Regions from separate parts of the Homo sapiens genome. Here region 1 is linked to region 2. Evidence: promoter capture Hi-C in 16 types of primary human blood cells and fetal thymus (Javierre and others, 2016). All regions are on one chromosome and are shown on one strand. Each heading gives the region's core, a stretch centred on a gene start or on the middle of the fragment in contact. The rest is flanking DNA. Distances are from core to core; before and after follow the strand shown. Region 1 overlaps CSNK1G1 (casein kinase 1 gamma 1). Region 2 holds the start of PCLAF (PCNA clamp associated factor).

Region 1 (7,052 bases), core at 2,039-4,538, 210 kb before region 2:
TATACGCTGTTCTTAACTTCCTTTACCTTTTCCCCCAATAGACTACATTTTTTTTTTTTTCTGCGGAAGGGACTGTGTTGCATTTACTCTGTCCACAGCTCCCTCACAGCGCGGCAGTACTGAGTGCCCAACAAGTCCTGGTTGGGATAGCTTCACATCCGCACTGACATGAGAAATAATTTATGCCACGGCCTGAGGATACAATGCCTTTTTCCGGAGGTCAGGAATAGTTACTAGATGTCCCCACAGGGCTATTTTAGGTCTTCACACACTTAGTGTTGTCCCAATCTACAACATAGATACTTTGGTACTGGGAGTCTTACACACCAAAACAAACCAAAACACAAACTTCCAAAATTTGGACCTATGGCGTTAAAACGTCTTTAAAACTAATTTTCAACGATTAACTTCGTAGAAATTCCAGGTCGTCACAGCACAGATTATAGGCAGGGCTCCATTTACATAAATTATGCAATGTAGTCTTCATGAGGCGCTGACCTGAGACTGAAGTTATGCAAGGCCACTGGCATTAACTTTGTTGTTCATTACAGCGGCCTTACACAGGTTGTAGAGCTTCAAGACAGTTCTCTTATTTCCCATCCTTGCACCTCAATTCAGACAACCCCAATCAGGAGGAAGTTTTAAACATTGTTATACTGACAAAGATGATCTTCCAGATCCATCTCTCATCCCTTTTTTTTTTTTTTCTCCTATTTTGTTAAGCCTCTTTCTTCACTCACTGGTCTCAGGCTGCCATAGCCAGAGAAAAATGTTTACTAAATCATGTTTTCAAAGTAGCCTCCAGCTGGGCACAGTAGCTCATACCTGTAATCCCAGCACTTTGAGAGGCTGTGGCAGGCAGATGACTTGAGTCCAGGAGTTTGAGCCTGGGCAACATGGTGAAACCTGTCTCTACAAAAAATACAAAAATTAGCAGGGCGTGGTGGTGCGCATCTGTAGTCGCAGCTACCCCAGAGGCTGAGGTGGGGGAATCACCTGAGCCCAGAAGGTCAAGGCTGCAGTGTACTGTGATCGTGAAACTGCACTCCACCCTGTCTCAAAAACAAAGAAACACTCAAAAAACCCAAGTAGCCTCCTGCACATGAGGAGCTAAGGCTAAAATGGCATCACAGCAGCCTTTCTCCCACTCCCACTTTCAAAAGAAATCAGGTTGATGGATAAAATGCTCTCAATGTGAAACTTTTCTCTCATGATTCTTCCACTGCTACCTGCCTGTGAAAAAGTAATTAAAGAGTAGTAACAAACTGGAAGGAGTCAATCATGCCCAGATTGACAGTTGTTCTGTTGGCTACATATGCAGTATGGTTTTACATTGCTCATCATAGTTCTATCTTCTGTCTGGACACATATTCCGCATTTGTAGAGGAGAATTATAAAGCTACTAAAGTTGTTCCACAGAGCAGATCCTGATTTCCTGTGTTCTACCACCTGAGAACAACAGGGACCCAGGAACTAACGTATGAGTGATAATGTCCAAATTCTTCCAGGAATATTTATTTATTTGAGACGGAGTCTTGCTCTGACGTCCATGCTGGAGTACAGTGGTGCGATCTTGGCTCATTGCAAACTCCACCTCCTGGATTCAAGCAATTGGCCTGCCTCAGCCTCCTGAGTAGCTGGGATTACAGGTGTGCACCACCACGCCCAACTAATTTTGTATTTTTAGTAGTGACAGGGTTTCACCATGTTGGCCAGGCTGGCCTCGAACTCCTGACCTCAAATGATCCACCCGCCTTGGCCTCCCGGAGTTGCTGGGATTACAGGTGAGAGCCACTGCGCCTGGCCAATATTTATTTTTTTAATTAAAAAATAATTTTCTTCTTCAGCACTCGAAGAGAGACAGCAGTATTTATTTTTGAAGTGACTCACAGGAGAAGACAATATTTAATCCAAGGAATGAAACAAGAATGCCAAATTATTTTTGTTCACAGGAGTCTTGAATCGCATCAAAGTTAGTCCTAGCTAGATTGTTAATTACAAATGAGCCGAGGGAGATTAAAAACAGACAAACCAATCAACCAACCAAACAAGCAGAAGTAGCCAAGAAAGGTAAGACATTTTATTTTACATACAAAAAGGGTGCAAACTGAGTCCTTTCCTCCCCAAACTGGGGAAGAGGTATACTTAAAGATCACATTTGTGTTTTCCATGGTGCCCTAGGAAATGGGCTACTCTGAGATCACATATCAGAACCCATTTTCCATTTTCTCCAAAGAAGGCTACTTCCTCTGCAGAGAAGATTTTCCTAATGGTGCACAAATATCTCTCCTGGAGGAACCATTTCAAATACACTTGAAATTGACATTCATGTTTAAAAATACTACAAATTTCATTTTCACAGCTGAGCTTTGTGACCAGTGCCAGGGTTTATGAAACATTATACATCTAAAAAAAAAAAAAGTAAAAAAAGAGGCATTTAACAATAATCAGACACATCCACACATTAAAACTGATTTCCACTGCTGATTTATACATTATCTAGTTGTTTAAAAATCGCAATCAACATCCCAACATCTTTTTAAGAGTACAATGGGCAAAGATCAAAGACAGATAAATAATAATATAATAAATTAGAGCATGTAATACATCCTATGGGAATTGCTGAATCAACATTATTTTCCATTGGGGGGTATATATTTTTGGTTTATCTTTATCTTTTCTGCTGTTATTTTTTTTCTCTGCTTGATAAAATGGGGCTCATTCCTAAAGCCAGCTTGCTGAGACACTAATTTCAGAAGCTCACTTGTCACTTGTTTAACCTCTGAGAATACTCAGGAACACATGGTTCCCAGCAGCTTGGGCTGGGTCTTTATGGAAGTGAAATGCACATAGATGAACACACGCACTCACGTGCGCACACACACCACACACACACACAGACACGCAGTCACACACTTCCATCTGTAAATATATTTCTCCCCAAAGAAATGGCTCATCTTTCCTGAGACATTCCTAATAGACTGATAAGCCTTCTAAAAAAGGCTTTTGGTGCAAGGGCTGGCCTGGGATTTGGTCTGGAGCTCATGAACTGAAAATGTCTCACCTGTACTGAAAGAGGGGTGGGTGGGGACATTCAGAACAGCTGTCCTCTTGTGGGTGTTACTGGAATGGCTGCACCACACCCCCACTTATTACCATGAATAATCCTCTGCTCTGAGACCTTATAGATGGTGATGGCACTGGGAAAGTGATTGTGAGGAGTAAAAGAAGAAAAATAAAAGAAATTCTGTCTACAGAACGGAGGTTTCTTTGTAACATCAGGTTTGGTAATCAAACTAGAAATACAAGGAATACGTGTTCACTTTTTCCCTTGAAAGGTGATTTACAAATACCGGAAGTGGGTTTTCTGGTTGTGTTTTGAGAAAATATGTCAACTACCACTGTGTATTATCCAGGGAACCTACTCACTATTTTGAATACAATGAGAAAACTATTTTTTTGTACTTAGTCACCTGCAAAAGGAGTTAGGAAAAACATTTTTAAGACTGCTTGCTGGACAAAAGACTTTCAAGATTCCTTACTTGTGGCTAAAACATTGCTCAAAAAGGATAAACCCACATAAGGGCCATGGTTGCCTCTTCTTTTTCTTATTCAGAAACAAAATCACCCCCCATACACCAAAAAACAAACTGAAAACCAAAAACAACAACAAAAAAACAAAACCCAAAGCCAAAGGAATCCCAATTTGATTCCTATCAACCCCTCATGGGAAAGACTAGGAGTCTCTGCCATCGACCTCTAGACAGGACTTCCCTGGAGTCTGCAAAAGCAAGAACCCGAGAGATAAGTGCCTGTCACTTACGTGGCCAATTCAGATGGGTTGCCTAATTATCCTGGCTCCCTGAGGGTTTCTGGAATTCATCTGCCCACCATAGGGCAATGGTGGGGATGGTGGCAGTGGCGTGGCAAAGGCAATGTTGGCTGTATGGTGTTGCAGGCTCCCAATCTGAGAAACGAACCTTAATATGGTTCTGACACTGGAGACAATGTTGTTAGGGCAACTCAATGGGAATGGAGAGCTGGTTTAAATGTGAAATGGAAGAGGTGGCTGGAACACAGGAGGCATGTGGGCTTGGGAGATGCATCAAACGAAAGTTCCTCTGAGAAGACGTTTTCTTGGCTGCCATGGAAGTTCTCATTTTTGAGAAATGCAAGCCATGCTTGCTCACTGGGAGGAGGAATGGATTTTATCTTTTACATAAAAAAGTTAAGGCTATAATCTTTAGTAACCACTTTGACGTTACATTATCATTGTTACATATTTCTGGCATTAAAAGTGGTTACTAGCACTGAAAATCAACACTGAATATGCACTACCAGCATATCTTCCCACTGAACTAAGTTTGGAAATTACTTTAGGGGTGATGGTCACCTTTTCTGGCTGATGGACAGGGACTGTTTTCTAAGTACTTGGAGTTCATTTAGAAAAAAGAGACAATCAACATGTCTAGAAACCTCAGGATCTCTGCTGTCATCTGTAGCTCATGCATTCCAATATAAAATGGGATTTTAACTGGAAGCTAATCTTGTACCTTCCTAGACCCTGTTTATTGCTGGACAGGCTCCATAATAGCAGAAGAATGTTAATTAAGGCAGTCATGAGTGCACACTGGCTGTCAGGATACTCTATCCACCCTTGGGGGCAGTCTGGAGTGAGATCTCTGGAAAGCACCAAGGTGCGTAGAGCAACTTGACCAACTCTTACTGCAGAGACACAAGTGATACCCTGGTCAAAAGGGAGTAGGGGGGACCATTTATGCCTTGGTGGAGTCTTGGCCTGTGTGCCTCAAATCTGTTTAGGATGCAATGTCTGAGGGACTGTAGAGCTTGGGAAAACTCCTAATGTATACTATTAAGGGTTTTTATGAATAGATGCTGAGTTAGCTTTCAGGAAAAACAACTGCATCAATCCTAAAGAAAAAGATCGTTAGGCACCATACTTGTGAAATGGAGAAAGCTCAGAAACTACAGAGCAAGTGGATGGGTGGGGACAGTCAGCGAGTGCATGCCCTAACCCCAAGGATCTGGCTGAGGCATACAGCTAAGGAACTGTAGCAGTAGGGTTGAGGAGGGAGCCCTGATTCGCTGATGGGCCTGAAACAAATGGCCAATTGCATCTAGGGTACTCAGGTTTTTTGCTTATTTTTAAGGAAGATCCCACCAGAATCTCCCAGGTCTGGGACCACTTTGAAGTGCCAATGGCTCTGGAGGGATCACCATTACTCTGCATGCTAAAGGGACCTGGGATTCTTTACCCTTGTTATAAAAACCAAATATCTAGTAAGAGATTTGTGAGGTTGGAAGGTGAGAACAGTGTCTTAGGAAGTACAGTCCCCTACAACTGATCCAGTAAAAATTTTAAGACAAAAAAAAAGTCGCAAATCCAGCTGCAAGGCAGCTTGCCCTGCAGCCAAGCTGGTCAGTGCCTTTGCTTTTGTGTGTGTGTGTGTGGAAGCAGGGTGAGGGGCTGAAGAGAGGCACTCAGTAGAGTATAGAGTGCCAGGATGCTCCAGGCATTCCCACCATTTCCCTCTGCCCTTTTTTTTTTTTCTTTTTAGACAGAGTCTCACTCTGTTGCCCAGGCTGGAGTGCAGTGGTGCGATCTCGGCTCACTGCAACTTCTGCCTCCCAGGCTCAAGTGATTCTCCTGCCTCAGCCTCCCGAGTAGCTGGGACTACGGGAGCATGCCACCATGCCCAGCTAATTTTTGTATTTTTTGTAGAGACGGGGTTTCACCATGTTGGCCAGGCTGGTCTCGAACTCTTGACCTCACATGATCCACTTGCCTTGGCCTCCCAAACTGCTGGGATTACAGGCGTGAGCCACTGCACCTGGCCCCCCCTCTGCCCTCTCTTGAGAGGCAAGGCATTTTCTATACAGGGGTGAGGAAAAGTTAAACTTTCTATACAGTAAGTTAGCAATGCCCAAATCCCAACTGAGAAACGATGTAAATTTTAGTGATAGGGCTGTAACCACTAGGTAATGGCAAGGACATAAATCCCAATATTCACAGTCCTTGTGGGGAAGGGGTGTGATATTGTATCTCCCTGCCACTTTATGTTTCATATATAGAAACATTTATAGAAATGACATATTACCATCTTTTCATAAGCTAAGCAGGTTTGATGCCAGTGAAATGATATTCCCTAGCCAAGGTCCAATGGAACAGATGAAGCCCAGTACCTCTGATCCATGTTAATGTTATTTCTGCTCTGTGTAAGGTACATCAAGGGAATTTTTCAAGAAATGGCAACTATCAGAAAATATCCCCACACCCTCCAGTACAAAAGACAGCCCTGCACCTCAAACCAGAGGTGAAGACTTCTATGGTCCACAAACCATCAGACTAAGTCACCCACCAGCCACTGTGCTCCATGGTTAGCTCTCTACTCCCAGATACAAGACCTCTTTCCTGATGTAAATGACCCTTTCTCTTCTGTCACCGCTGGAATGAGGAGTCATTGTTTGGTTAAGCCACTAAACTCAAATGAAAATTGGGCATGAGAAGAGTAACTCCACACATGAAAGACTTGTCAAACAGTGAATGAGGAACCAGATCCTTCACAGTAGTACCTCATATGAAAACACCATGGGGGGAGGCCTAGGGCATACTGGGAAAAACATGCTTAGAGGCACGGCCACCTTTCTGGAAGGAGTCCAATTGAGAAGATAATTTCAGACCTTTCATTCCAGTCTCCTTTTCCCTGGAATGTTCCAGCACCAAACAATCTTTCCCTCCTTTTAAATGCGGCCCCATATACTGCATCCTAAGCCTACTGCTATGGACCTGCTGGGAGAAGATCTTCATAAGCTTGGTTTCTGATAAGGCAGGCCAGCCCAAATGCTACAGCTCAGCTATTGGGGCAGATAGGATACACCGATTTTCTTTTCCTGGCCCTATAATGCCACACCCTGAGGTCCCTCTGGCAGGTGGAAGGCAGGTTCACTGTCCTCTTTTTTTCCACTAATGGCAATATGGTGGTGGCTGTTTCATCACTAATTTTTCCCCCAAGTCACCAGGACGTCACATG
Region 2 (7,164 bases), core at 3,795-6,294:
ATTTGAGACAGAGTCTCACTCTGTCCCCCAGACTGGAGGGCAGTGGCGTGAAAATGAGATACATGTGCATTACATGCAAGTTTGTTATATAGGTATATGTGTGCATGGTGGTTTGCTGCACCAAGCAATTCTTTTGTTTGAGCCTCCCAAATAGCTAGGACAACAGGTGTGCACCAGCACGCCGAGCTAATTTTGTATTTTTAGTAGAGACAGGGTTCCACCATGTTGGACAGGCTGGTTTTGAACTCCTGGCCTCAAGTGATCCTCCCGCCTCGGCCTCCCAAAGTGCTGGGATTACAGGCGTGAGATAAATATTTTCTTTATATTCCAGAATATAAAAACTTACTTTCTCTTTGCTTTTCCTAAGCCACTGCTTCCTGCCTCTTCAGGAATCTGATTCTCTTTTTCAGAATCTTTAGGGGACAACCTAAAGAATTCTCCAATTCCTTTTTGCCACTTGGGAGTTGGGCGCACGCAAACGGGGTTCCCTCCTGCATATTTATTTTCAGCTGTAAAATATAAACAGATGGAACTAGATAAGTGCTAATAATACAATCTCTATTCCTTAAACAACTTAATTCCTTCTTTAACATCAAATTCTCAAAGGTATTAAATAATCTTTATTTAAGATATACAACTTAAAGAATTAGAAAATGTGACACAATAAAGCTGTATTCCACCAATAAACTCAGTGTGATGGTTATCTTAGCAATAACAGTAGTAACAGAATTTTTACAACTGAAAAATATTTTTATATTTTGTCCACAAGCAGAGCTATTCAAATACTCTTGCCGGGTCCAGTGGCTCACGCCTGTAATCCCAGCACTTTGGGAGGCTGAGGAGGGTGGATCACAAGGTCAGGAGTTCGAGACCAACCTGGACAACATGGTGAAACCCCCGTCTCTACTAAAAATACAAAAATTAGCTGGGTGTGGCGGCACGTGCCTGTATTCCCAGCTACTTGGGAGGCTGAGGCAGGAGAATCACTTGAACCAGCGAGTCGGAGGTTGCAGTGAGCCAAGATTGCGCCGCCACTGCACACTCCAGTCTGGCAACAGAGCGAGACTCTGTCTCAAAAAAAAAAAAAAAAAAATATATATATATATATATATATATATATATATATATATATATATATATATTCTTGTATGTACTGACATACTGAAGTTTGACACACTTTTTCCTAACATAAGATAGGACCATGTAGTATAAAGTGCCAACATTTTACTTACTAAGGTCATTTAGTTAAAGCACATATAAGAGGCAATGTGAAAGTCTCCACAAAAGTAGATTCCATTTTTCAAAGCACCTGGCTCCTTTTCAGTTCATAAGAGAAGTCCAATTCCTGGTGTTTTTTTTTTTTTTTTTTTTTTTTTTCAAAGTCTAGCTCTGTCACCCAGGCTGGAGTGCAGTGGCGCAATCTTGGCTTACTGTAACCTCTGCCTCCCGGATTCAAGTGATTCTCCTGCCTCAGCCTCCCGAGTAGCAGGGATTACAGGCGCCCGCCACCACGCCCAGCTAATTTTTGTTTTGTTTTTGTTTTTTTGGGGGGGAGACAGAGTCTCACTCTGTCACCCAGGCTGCAGTGCAGTGGCACGATCTTGGCTCACTGCAAGCTCCGCCTCCCGGGTTCATGCCATTCTCCTGCCTCAGCCTCCCGAGCAGTTGGGACTACAGGCGCCCGCCACCACACCTGGCTAATTTTTTGTACTTTTAGTAGAGACAGGGTTTCACCATGCTAGGATGGTCTCGATCTCCTGACCTCATGATCCGCCCGCCTTGGCCTCCCAAAGTGCTGGGATTACAAGTGTGAGCCACCCTGCCCGGCCAATTCCTGGTTATTTTTCAACAGTAATATAAGGAGAAATTGAGGGAAAATTCTTGCCTTTTTATAAAGTAATGACCAGGAACAAATTATTCAGTTACTGCAAATCTTTTGCTTTAAGCTAAAACATTTGCTTTAACAACTCTAGTTGTTAAAGAATGCTTACAAAAGTTGTTTCCATATAGACTCTGAAGTTATATTGTTTCTACTTATTTATTTACATTTATAAAAATAGCAATGGGGTTTTGCCACGTTGTCCAGGCTGGTCTCAAACTCCTGGCTGAGGCAACCGTCCCGCCTTCGCCTCCAAAAGAAGGAATGGCATATAAAAGATAGTGATCTTTTGGTTCACAGTTTTCCCAAAGGAACCTTACAGGAATGCTTTTACTACTAGAAAACATACAGCAGCAGCTGGGCGCAGTGGCTCACGCCTGTAATCCCAGCACTTTGTGAGGCCGAGGCAGTTGGATCATGAGGTCAGGCATTTGAGAACAGCCTGGCCAACATGGTGAAACCCTGCCTCCACTAAAGATACAAAATTTAGCCAGGCATGGTGGCGCATGCCTGTAATCCCAGCTACTTAGGAGGCTGAGGCAGAAGAATTGCTTGAACCCGGGAGGCGGAGGTTGCAGTGAGCCGAGTTCATGCCACTGCACTCCAGCCTGGGTGACAGAGCGAGACTGTGTCTCAGAAAAAAAAAAAAATATAGCAGCAACAGGTTCAAACCCAACTCCACTGATTTAGTTGTGTGACCTTTATCAAGTTATATAACCAGATATTAAATTTCCTTATCTTTAAAATAAGGATATTACCCATTTCATACATCCAATTATTCGGATTAAAAATAGAGATTTTTAAAATGCCTTAAAGGATGCATTTATTCAACATATATTCAGTAAGGGCCTATTTAGTTGGCTCTGGTGATTCAACAGTGGACCAGACGATGAGATGCGGCTCTAATGAAATTTCATCAGGCCAGGCGTGGTGGCTCACGTCTGTAATCCCAGCACTTTGGTAGGCTGAGGCGGGAGGATTGCTTCAGCCCAGGAGTTCGAGACCAGCCTGGGCAATGTGATGAAACCCCATCTCTACAAAAAACACAAAAATTAGGCGGGCGTGTGGTGGCATGCGCCTACAGTCCCAGCTACTTGGGAAGAGCCTGAAGTGGGAGGATCATTTGAACCCTGGGGTCAAATCTGCAGTAAGCTGTGATTGCACCACTGCACTCAAGCCTGGGCAACAGAGTGAGACCCTGTCTCAAAAAAAAAAAAGAAAAAAGAAAAGAAAAAGAAACTTAGTCTAGTGGTACAGGGTATAAGTTACTCTAAAAAAATTCATCAACTTCTATTTCCTTTTATCTGAAGAGATAGAAATAGTAAATGTTTTCTAATGAAATGTTTATAATAGGGAGAAATTTGAATTGACTTTAAAACCCATGAAGTCCTAAACAGTGTTCACCTTTATGTTCTTAATTAAATCTTGTAGCGTTAATCTCCCTGTCTGCCAAATTTCCTACTGAAAGGAATGAGGCACCAGATGGCAGGGCATTTTCTCATCTACTCCACGCACAGAAGGAGCAGCGTGAAGCTATTTCCTTTGCCGGGTTTCACTCCTACTCTCCCAAAGACAGTATTAGGAGCTGCAAAGTTGGAGAAAACCCACAGACATCATACTCAAACAAACAAACAAACAAAAAAGAGTAAGGAAGAAAGGAAAAACAAGCAAACAAAAACAAAAACATTTTTATTAAAGTTTAGTAGACATTGCAATGAGCACTCAGCACTGTTAACGATTGTTCAAACCCTTAATCTACTAAGGGGGCTTTTAAATAGCCTCTAACAATATTTAAATAGCCTCTGTTATTATTAAGAAAAATAATAGCTGGGCGTGGTGGATCACGTCTGTGTTCCCATCACTTTGGGAAGCTGAGGCAGGCAGATCATGAGGTCAGGAGTTTGAGATCAGTCTGGCCAACATAGTGAAACCCCATCTCTACTAAAAATACAAAAAAATTAGCTGGGTGTGGTGGCGTGCACCTGTAATCCCAGCTACTCAGGAGGCAGAGGCAGGAGAATCGTGTGAACCCGAGAGGCGGAGGTTGCAGTGAACCAAGATCACACCGTTGCACTGCAGCCTGGGCAACAGTGCAAGACTCTGTCTCAAAAAAAGAAAGAGAAAGAAAAAGGAAAATACTAAACCAAAAAACAAAAATTGATAGGCTGGCTGTGGTGGCTCATGCCTGTAATCCCAGTAGGAGGATTGTTTGAGCCCAGGAGTTTGAGACCAGCTTAGGCAACATAGTGAGACCCCCATCTCTACAAAAAATAGAAAAAAAAGCCCGGCGTGGTGGCATGTACCTGTAGCCCCAGCTACTTTGGAGGCTGAGGTGGGAGGATTGCTTAAGCCCCATAAGTGGAGGATGTAGTGACCAGTGATTGCACCACTGCACTCCAACCTGAGCAACAAAGAGAGGCCCTGTCTAAAAAAAGAAAAGAAAAGAAAAATAGGCTTGAAGATAAGGTGTGTCGGTCCTTAACTCCAAGGCTTGAAATTCCCTTCCATGAGACCTCCCCCCCACCTCTACCCTAGCCGGCCAAAAGGCCCAGCCTCTCTTATTATATCACAGGGCAAGGAAGAAATTCGGGCGTGAGTACCTCAAGAAAAAGAAATTCATGGCAAGCCAGGGGCTTGCAGGTGCCAGGACTGATCCCCTAACTTTAGGAGGGCTCTTCTTACCTTTCCTCGATGAAACTGATGTCGAATTAGTGGCAGAGGTGGAAGAACCAAGCACCTTTCTGGGGGCTCGAGCAGCCACCACTGTGAAGAGAGGCAAAAAAGGGTGTTCAGAAGGGGCAGGAGGGTTCCGACACCGAGTCCTGGACCCCAGCAGCTTGGAGAGGAGAGCCTGGCGATCCAGAACAGCAGGATAACCTTACCCTGCCCCTGCGACTTCCTCTTCTAGGTAAAGGGGCCAGGCGGCTACTCCCTGGCTAGCTAGATGAGTTTGGCGCACAGGGCCCAGGGGGACCTCTGGCGTCTGTCGCCCGTGGCCAGGCTGCCGGGAGGACCCCCCCGCCCTCCAGTACCACACTCGATCGCCTCACCTTTTCTGTAAGTGCCTGGAACACTGTCTGCTTTAGTCCGCACCATGTTCAAACAAGAAGAGAGGAGAGGAGAGAACGAACTGACTTCCCAGCCGAGGGTGTTTCACTGGACAAGGACCCGAAAACTATCCCGCCACAGTTTATATTGGTCTCTTTCCCGCGCGCTCCAAGGTCTCTCCCGAGCCACCGCTCCCATTGGTTCCGCGCCGTTCCCCCTGAACCAATTGCCAATGCCCAGTGGTGACAGCGGCGAGGCTTCTTGCAGCGCGAATCCGTCCATCAACACGCAAAGGCCTAGGATTCGTAGGCGCCCCAGGTGGGCGGTACCAGGACTCTCCAGGGGTACCCGACTAGTGGGTGCTAAGTTTCTGAACTACAGAAATGAGCCTGCTTAGAAAAGAAAACCTAGCAAAGACAGCGAATTACAAACGATCTTCAAAAGTTACTATAGCTTTAAGTCCATAATGATTGACTCCTGGAGGTGAAACCTGAAATTAAGCGGACTTTTTGATGCAAATCAAAATTAAAAGAACTTGAGAACTTTCCTTTAGTCCCCCAGGCATGAACTCTTTGTACAGCATCCATACTAAAACAATTCTATGGAATGGGGAAAAGGAAGCTAATACAACTTGTTTACAAGGGTTTTTTTAAATGTCTTTAGGATGATGTGAGACTAAACAAAAACTAGGGGGATTGTATATACATACACACATAAAAAGAAACTAATAAAACGTCTTCTTGAGAACCGAATGGTGTCAGAGCTCCTAAATAATCTGCCAAATCTGCCAGGAGCGGGGACTCATGGCTGTAATCCCAGCACTTTGAGAGGCCGAGGCGGGCAGATCGCTTGACCCCAGGAGGTCGAGACCAGCCTGACCAACACGGTGAAACCCGTCTCTACAAAAAATATACAAAAATTAGCCGGGTGCAGTGGCATGTTCCTGTAATCCCAACTACTCGGGAGGCTGAGGTGGGAGGATGGCTTGAGTTCAGGAGACGGGAGATTGCTTGTGCCTAGGAGGGAGAGGTTGCAGTGAGCCATAATCACACCATGCACTCCAGCCTGGGCGACAGAGCGAGATCCTGTCTCAAAAAAAAAAAAGAAAGAAAGAAAGAAAAGAAAAGAAAGAAAGAAAAGAAAAGAAAAAAGAAAAGAAAGGCAAGGCAAGGCAAGGAAATGAAATGAAACGAAACGAAACGAAAAGACCCTGCCAAATGTGGTAAGACCACATCGCTGTCACACAGTGAGCATAACTCTAGGATAAAGGGTCATAATTTTTTTCTATCTTTATGCTTACCTTCTAATTACTCACAACACCCCTGGGGAGTGATTTTCACTCTCTAAATACCATACATAAAACAGAATCGGTCAGGCATGGTGGCTCACACCTGTAATCCTAGCACTTTGGGAGGCCGAGGCAGGCAGATTGCCTGAGCTCAGGAGTTCGAGACCAGCGTGGGCAACATGGTGAAACCCAGTCTCTACTAAAATAAAAATAAAAATAAAAAATAAAAAATTAGCTGGGAGTGGCGGCATGTGCCTGTAGTCCCAGCTACTCTGGAGGCTGAGGCAGGAGAATTCCTTGAACCCGGGAGGCGGAGGTTGCAGTGAGCCGAGATCACGCTACTGCACTCCAGCCTGGGCGACAGGGCGAGTCTCCGTCTCTAAAAACAACAACAAAAAACAGGATCAGATGAACTTGCTTTGGGATGTATTCTGTTAAATGCTCACTTGAAAGGCTACTCTAGAAGTGTAAACACAGCATTAATTCTCTCCAATGAATTGCTCGAACTTAGAATTAGGCTACTCAGTACTTTAACAGAATCAACAACTGCACTCTGTAACACAGATTTAAGGAATCTAGGCAACAGGTTAAATTAACACAATAATAGAAAATGTATTGGCAATTACCTGTAGTTTTGTCTTAACCTTGGTATCTAAGGTTACAGCCAAATCAACCGGAAAAATCCACAAGACCCAGGGCATTCCTTTGTTTTTTGTCCTCATGGCCCATCTCATTGCACAGTGGTTTTTTTGTGTGTGTGTTTTTTTTTTTTTGAGATGGAGTCTCACTTCTTCGCCCAGGTTGGAATGCAGTGGCGTGTTCTCGGCTCACTGCAATCTCCGCCTCCCGGGTTCAAGCAATTCTCCTGCCTCAGCCTCCCACGTAGCTGGGATTACAGACACGTGCCAAAACACTCGGCTAATTTTTGTATTTTCAGTAGAGACAGGGT

What was found. The method cuts DNA at HindIII sites, captures the fragments that hold promoters and counts their contacts. A CHiCAGO score of 5 or more calls a contact.
Region 1: a contact is called between a fragment that was not itself captured here and the fragment with the promoter of PCLAF in region 2, in 1 of 17 cell types (erythroblasts). The highest score is 6.0, in erythroblasts.

Annotation. Positions count from the first base shown.
Region 1 is chr15:64,163,675-64,170,726 of GRCh38, forward strand. CSNK1G1 (casein kinase 1 gamma 1) reads right to left here. Exons shown (of 12, transcript NM_022048.5): 12 at 1,851-7,052. Among named protein-coding and RNA genes, the nearest start is that of PPIB, 4.2 kb to the left of the region's middle. The HindIII fragment of the contact is 7,083 bases long and covers 1-6,830 here.
Region 2 is chr15:64,376,397-64,383,560 of GRCh38, forward strand. It overlaps PCLAF (PCNA clamp associated factor), which reads right to left and starts at 5,045. Exons shown (of 4, transcript NM_014736.6): 1 at 4,930-5,045; 2 at 4,562-4,642; 3 at 347-509. The coding sequence starts at 4,975. RefSeq lists an enhancer at 4,706-5,216. The HindIII fragment of the contact is 13,260 bases long and covers 1-7,164 here.